Regions from separate parts of the Homo sapiens genome. Here region 1 is linked to region 2. The links are contacts of gene promoters, found by promoter capture Hi-C in blood cells and fetal thymus (Javierre and others, 2016). All regions are on one chromosome and are shown on one strand. The core of a region is centred on a gene start or on the middle of the fragment in contact, and the rest is flanking DNA. Distances in the headings are between cores, read along the strand shown. Region 1 has its middle 170 kb from the start of LRP12. Region 2 holds the start of LRP12 (LDL receptor related protein 12).

Region 1 (2,994 bases), core at 200-2,699, 170 kb after region 2:
GTAGGGCTAAATATAAAAATACACCGTGTTCCCAGAGCCTAGGAGAGTGCCTTGCACGTATTAGGTGCTGAGTAAATATTTTTGGATTGATTGTCTAAATGAAAAGTGTTCTGAAGACATGATTTCTAGTTCCGACTCTGTGGCTTGTGTTTTGGCCTAGACCAGTAAGTTCTTGTGAAAATCAGATGAGAGAATGTGCTTTAATATAGTACTTTAAAATAGTAAATTTCCATAATGCAGCTTATTAAAACCAATGGTCACAATTGGCCTTCTGCAATGTTCGGTTTGGGTCGATTTAATTCATTGAGGGCCTACTGCATGCAAGATATAGGTGCAGACATTGCTCAGGAGCCCCAGAAAAGTTAGACACGGCCCCTGTTCCAAAAGAGATGAAGAGATTTTGATAAAAGGACAGGAAAATAAGACAAATATGAAAATAAGAATATCTGGTGAATAATTCAAAATACTTAATCATTGGTATGACAGAGGCAATTAACTATGAGAATGAACGTCTGCAGTAGAACTGAATATCAATCCTAGTAGAGGTGACATGGACTTTATAATAATGTCTTTACCTGACAAGAAGTGAATAAGGAGTAAAGTAATAGTGCTACTCAAGCTTTCTCATGGAAGTGTATATAACAGCAGATAAGTTAAAAAAATATTTTCTGTGGTCTGAGCCTGTGTGGCCCCAAATGGCACACCATGATTTTGAAATTACTTTGAAGTCCTGGGCTTTATCTCAAACACCATGAACATTTTGCATTCTGTACCATAATGCACCCCATTTCCTTGGATTATAATATACAAATACTACCCTCTACTCCACTAAAAATCTGAATCTAATTGACACTCCAGGAAGCTCCACTGAATTTAGTTAGGTATACTTGGTTGTTGGCCTAAAAGGAAGAAGCTGAGGCAAAATTAATATAGAGAGTTTATTTGGGCCAAGGTCAAGGGCTGCAGCCTGGGATACGCTTCCAAGTTGCCTTGGCGAGTGGTCCAGAGAACAAAATAGAGGCTCAAGTTTTTAAAGAAAAAAGGATGAATCAGGAGAGGGGGCAGTTACAAAAGTTGTTTGTCAGGAATTCTCATTGGTTAACAGAAATAACATTTGTTACCAGAAAGGGGTCTGGATCCAGACCCCAAGAGAGGTTCTTGGATCTTGAACAAGAAAGAATTCTGGGTGAATCTATAAAGTGAGATAAAGTTTATTAAGAAAGTAAAGGAATAAATGAATGGCTACTCCATAGGCAGAGCATCCCCAAGGGATGCTGGCTGCCCATTTTTATGGTTATTTCTTGATTATATACTAAACAAGGGGTGGATTATTCATGCCTCCCCTTTTTAGACCATATAGGGTAACTTCCTGATGGTGCCATGGCATTTATAAGCTGTCATGGTGCTTGTGGGAGTGTAACAGTGAGGACACCAGAGGTCACTCTCATCGCCATCTTGGTTTGGGTTTTGGTAAGTTTTAGCCAGCTTCTTTACTGCAACCTGTTTTATCAGCAAGGTCTTTATGATCTGTGTCTTGTGCTGACCTCCTATCTCATCCCGTGACTAAGAATGCCTTAACCTCCTGGGAATGCAACCCAGTAGGTCTCAGCCTTATTTTACCCAGCCCCTATTCAAGATGGAGTCACTCTGGTTCAAACGTCTCTGACACACTGGTTAATGATTGGCTATACATTGTTGAAGTACAGGGTGTACAGCATTTTATGGCTACTTGGCATCAGTTAGTCTAGAGCCTACATTGCAAGTGGCTTCAAGAAACAATTATTTTCATTTTTAATTTTTGTGGGTACATAGTAGGTATATATATTTATGGGATACATGAGATATTTTGATACAGGCATACAATGTGTAATAATTATATCAGGATAAATGGGGTATGTATCAGCTCAAGGGCGAGTGAGGTATGACTAGTGTTATATTTCAAATGCCTTTCTGGGCCTGATAATTTAAAGGGGCTCACATTCCTCAGATAAAAAGTATTTTTCTTTCTCACGGTCATGTTTCCTGGCACTGCAGAGGGTGTACTGCAGCTGAAAGCTGGAGATCCTGTGGGAGAATCACAGGGTCAGATCATTCAATCAGAAGTAGACATTTGCTCTGAAGGATCTACTTCTCTTTTGGGTCTGCGCCCTCCACGTGTCAGGGGCAGCACATCCCCTTCATTTTATTTATTTATTCCAGGCCTAGAAGACTTGGCATTCTGTCATTCACTGTGAAATTTTGGGATAACATTCTTAGTTTTCCTGTTTCTAGACTAGTTCTCAAGCTTCCTGGATGACTTCTCAGGGCTCTATAAGGGCAGGCAGGATCAGAGGTTAGCTTCGCACTCTACCCTCCCACCCCCCAGTGCTTCTCTGAGGGCGCTGGTGATGTTCTGGAGACTACATTCAATTGTGTTTTCTCAAACTCATCTGCCGTGACATTTGTTACAGGAAAGGGGTCTGGATCCAGATCCCAAGGGAGGGTTCTTGGATCTCGCACAAGGAAGAATTCAGGGCGAGCCCATGGAGTAAAGTGAAAACAAGCTTATTAAGAAAGTAAAGGCATGAAAGAATGGCTACTGCATAGGCAGAGCAGCCTTGAGGGCTGCTGGTTGCCCATTTTTATGTTGTTTTTTTTTTTTTTAAATTATATACTAAAGAGGTGAATCCCCTTTTTAGACCGTATAGGATAACTTCCTGATGTTGCCATGGCATTTATAAACTGTCATGGCGCTAGTGGGAGTGTAGCAGTGAGGAAGGCCAGAGGTCACTCTAGTGGCCATCTTGGTTTTGGTGGGTTTTGGCCAGCTTCTTTACTGCAAACTGTTTTATCAGCAAGGTCTTTATGACCTGTATTTTGTGCTGACCTCCTATCTCATCCTGTGACTTAGAATGCCTTAACCATCTGGGAATGCAGCCCAGTAGGTCTCAGCCTTATATTACCCAGCTCCTATTCAAGATGGAGTTGCTCTGGTTGAAACACCTCTGACACTGT
Region 2 (3,181 bases), core at 274-2,773:
CACCACCACCATTATACTAGTCAAATCAATGTTTGTGGCAAATGAATTAGACTTTTTATAAGTAAAATTTACCAAAGTAATGATATCTTCTAATTCTTTTTCTGGAGAAATCAGAGCAACACTCCAAAAAGGAAAGGTTAAAACTGAGCTCTCTGAAATACCTATTCAGTGTGTTTAACTGATGAACTAAGAACGGTGAAGTCAGAAGTGTAACTTAATTATCTTAAGAGATAGATGTTCTTTGCAATTAATTCCATTCAGCTCTTGCTCAGACCCCAACGCAATATAAAGCTGTCCGCACAGTCTTCAGCCTTCTCTTAACCCGAAAGGAGTTATCTCTAACCCGATCCATCGACTGGAATAAAGTAACAGTGACCACAGCGGCGGACGAGGATGGATGAAATTACAATTGAACTAGGAGTCAGGACAGATGTGTACACCCTAACAGGAGAGACTGAGGTGGGGCTGGAAACTATTTTCTGGCCTTCTCCCGCGTGCTGCTCCCGGGGAACCAACAGGACCCTGCACGCCCGGATTCGGCAGAGCCCTTGCCCCCGAGGTGGAGTGGGGAGAAGTCAGCGGGAAGCCTTTTCAGGGAATCGAGTAGGACAAGGGCTGGCGCGGTGGGAATCTCGCCGGTGAGAGAACTTCCTAACCCCGGGTTGAGGGGGCGGGGGGAAGGACCGTCCCGGCAGCGGCGGGGGCGAGCTCCTCTGCTTTCTCACAGTCAAGCATCTTTGTGTGTGGATTGTGCCAGGCTACGGGTCCTGGAGCAACTGGCCGCGGGGGCCCTCGAACCCAGGTCGGGAAGTCCGCCCGCCACCCCCTCGCTCCGCCGGGGCCCTCCCGGCCGGGCCCCCCAGCCCCTCTCCACCACCCGAGGGTCTGGAGGTGGACGAGTGGAGAAAAGCATCTCCGTGTGGGGACACCCGTTCCGCCACATCCACCCCCTCACCGGTCTTTGTCCCGCCGGTAGCCAGGGTCTCCGCGGGAGTCTCCAGGGGAACCCCCGTCCTGGAGGCCTCGGGGCCCGGGTCGCCTCAGCTTTGTTCGGTCAGCGGGGCGCGGGGACGCGGACACTTACCGTACACCCCAGCGAGGAAAAGCAAGAGCAACGCAGACCTCCACCGCGGAGACTCTTTTGTGCTCCAGCGACAGGCCATAACCACAGCAGATGGAGAGAGAGAGGAGGAGACGGAGGAGGAGGGAGGAGAAGCTGGAGGTAGACGACGCCGACGCCGCCGCCGCCGCCGCCGCCGCCGCCGAGCCACCGGCTGCTCCCTGCGCTCTCCGCGGCTGCGGGAGGGGGAAGGGAGGGGCCGCCGCCGCCCGCGCGCGCTCCCTCCTCCCTCCTCCCTCCGGCTCGCCTGCTCCCACCCCGGGCGGTGCGAGAGCCCCACGCGGGGCGGCCCTCCTGGGGGCAAGGGCAAGGAGCTCGCGCGCCAGCGCGAGACGAGAGGGTGGCGGACGCCGGACTCCGGCCTCGCGCCGCTCGGGCTAGCCGGCGCCGCCACTCGCCAGACTGAGCGCGCGCCCATCCGTGCGATCGGCAATCCCCTGGCCCGCCTGCCTCGGTTCCCTCCCCGCGCTCCGCTGGACTTTCCAAGTTTCGGGCCGATTTCCACGCGACGGGAGCCCAAGGAGCAAGGCAGCGCCAATCGATGACAGAGCGTGCGAACGCCGGCTGCTGGATGCCCAGGGGCTGGAGCGCGGGGTGTGTGGAGGAGCACGGTCGCTGTCCGAGGGCTGGGCTCTGGCCCAGCGGGTGGGGGGAGGGGGGGTGGGATACCAGCTGGGAGGCTGAAGGTGGTTCCGTGTTGGGGGAGGCGTGGATGGTCTGAAGCTGACAACTTGGGAGTTCCTTCCTCTATCCGGTACCCCCAAGTCTCCACTTGCTGTCGGCGCGGAGCTTCGAGTGGGGGTGGGCTCAAGTTAGTGCGGCCAACCTGGCAGCTGGTCGGTCAAGGGGCAGTGTGGACTCCCACGCTCAAGGTGCCCGGAATGAGTCGGGCAAGGCTTGTGCAGAGCCCCTCCAGTCTGGCGTGGAAGCGCCAAGAGGTCATTTGACATCTCACGCTGGGTCGGGTGCAGCTGGGCCAGGATGTTCGGCAGGGCTGGAGCCGACTTTCAGGGTAGATATATTGAAAGGAGGATTCGCCCATCACGCTGCAGTTTCCCTAAAGCTCTTTTCTCACTCCCAGCAAATGGGAGTCCTCCTTTACTTAGATCCCCAGAACACTTTTCTAAGTACGTCTGTAGTGACGCTGGCACATCAGACCTTACCCCCTGTGTTTTTAAAGCGTTTGTCTACAACGTCTTATTTATATTAGATTTTATCGTTGCCCTTTGCAAGCACTCTCCATGCTATTCATTGAAGACCTACACTGCATCATGCTGTCCTATTGACATAGGTTGTCACTTTTTAATCCCAAACATCCTTGTGAGATAAATATTACCCATGTTTTATAGAAAAGAGAGAAATTAAATTACTCATGGCAAGTAAGTTGTTTGAAACAGTTTTTCTCATTCCAAAGTAAAGATTGTTGCCCCTATACCACAGCAAACTCTCTAGCACAATGCTTAGCGCCTAGTAATGTGTCGGAGTTGGTGCCTGCCAGGGGGTTCGTGGTCTCCCTGACTTCAAGAATGAAGCTGCAGACCTTCCCGGTGACTGTTAACAGCTCTTAAAGATGGCACGGACTCAAAGAGTGAGCGGTAGCAAGGTTTATTGCGAAGAGCAAAAGGACAGCTTCCACAGCATGGAAGAGAACCCCAGGTGCTGGCTGGTGGTGGCCAGCTTTTATTCCCTTGTGGTCCCCTCCCATGTTCCATTTCTGTCCTATCGGAGTGCCCCTCTTTCAATCCTCCCTGCGATTGGCTACTTTTGGAATCCTGCTGATTGGTGCGTTTTACAGAGTGCTGATTGGTGCATTTTACAGAGCGCTGATTGGTGCATTTTACAATCCTCTTGTAAGACAGGAAAGTTCCTCAAGTCCCCACTGGACCCAGGAAGTTCAGCTGGCCTCACCTCTCAGTAAGTAAATGTTAAAATTTAAAACATACTTTCTGGGGAATACATTTAGGCTTTTCCTCAGTCTCCTGCCGATTTGCCCCCTTTTAAGTTTTTTTTTTTAAAACCAGGAAATGCTATTCCAAAAGATAAGAGAAAAATGTATTAATA

Evidence for each region. The method cuts DNA at HindIII sites, captures the fragments that hold promoters and counts their contacts. A CHiCAGO score of 5 or more calls a contact.
Region 1: a fragment that was not itself captured here is called in contact with the fragment with the promoter of LRP12 in region 2 in 2 of 17 cell types (M2 macrophages and megakaryocytes); the score reaches 6.1 in M2 macrophages.

What each region holds. Positions count from the first base shown.
Region 1 is chr8:104,760,795-104,763,788 of GRCh38, forward strand. No RefSeq gene overlaps it. Among named protein-coding and RNA genes, the nearest start is that of LRP12, 170 kb to the left of the region's middle. The HindIII fragment of the contact is 1,665 bases long and covers 618-2,282 here.
Region 2 is chr8:104,587,735-104,590,915 of GRCh38, forward strand. It overlaps LRP12 (LDL receptor related protein 12), which reads right to left and starts at 1,524. Exons shown (of 7, transcript NM_013437.5): 1 at 1,085-1,524. The coding sequence starts at 1,163. RefSeq lists silencers at 683-792, 1,223-1,562. The HindIII fragment of the contact is 14,799 bases long and covers 1-3,181 here.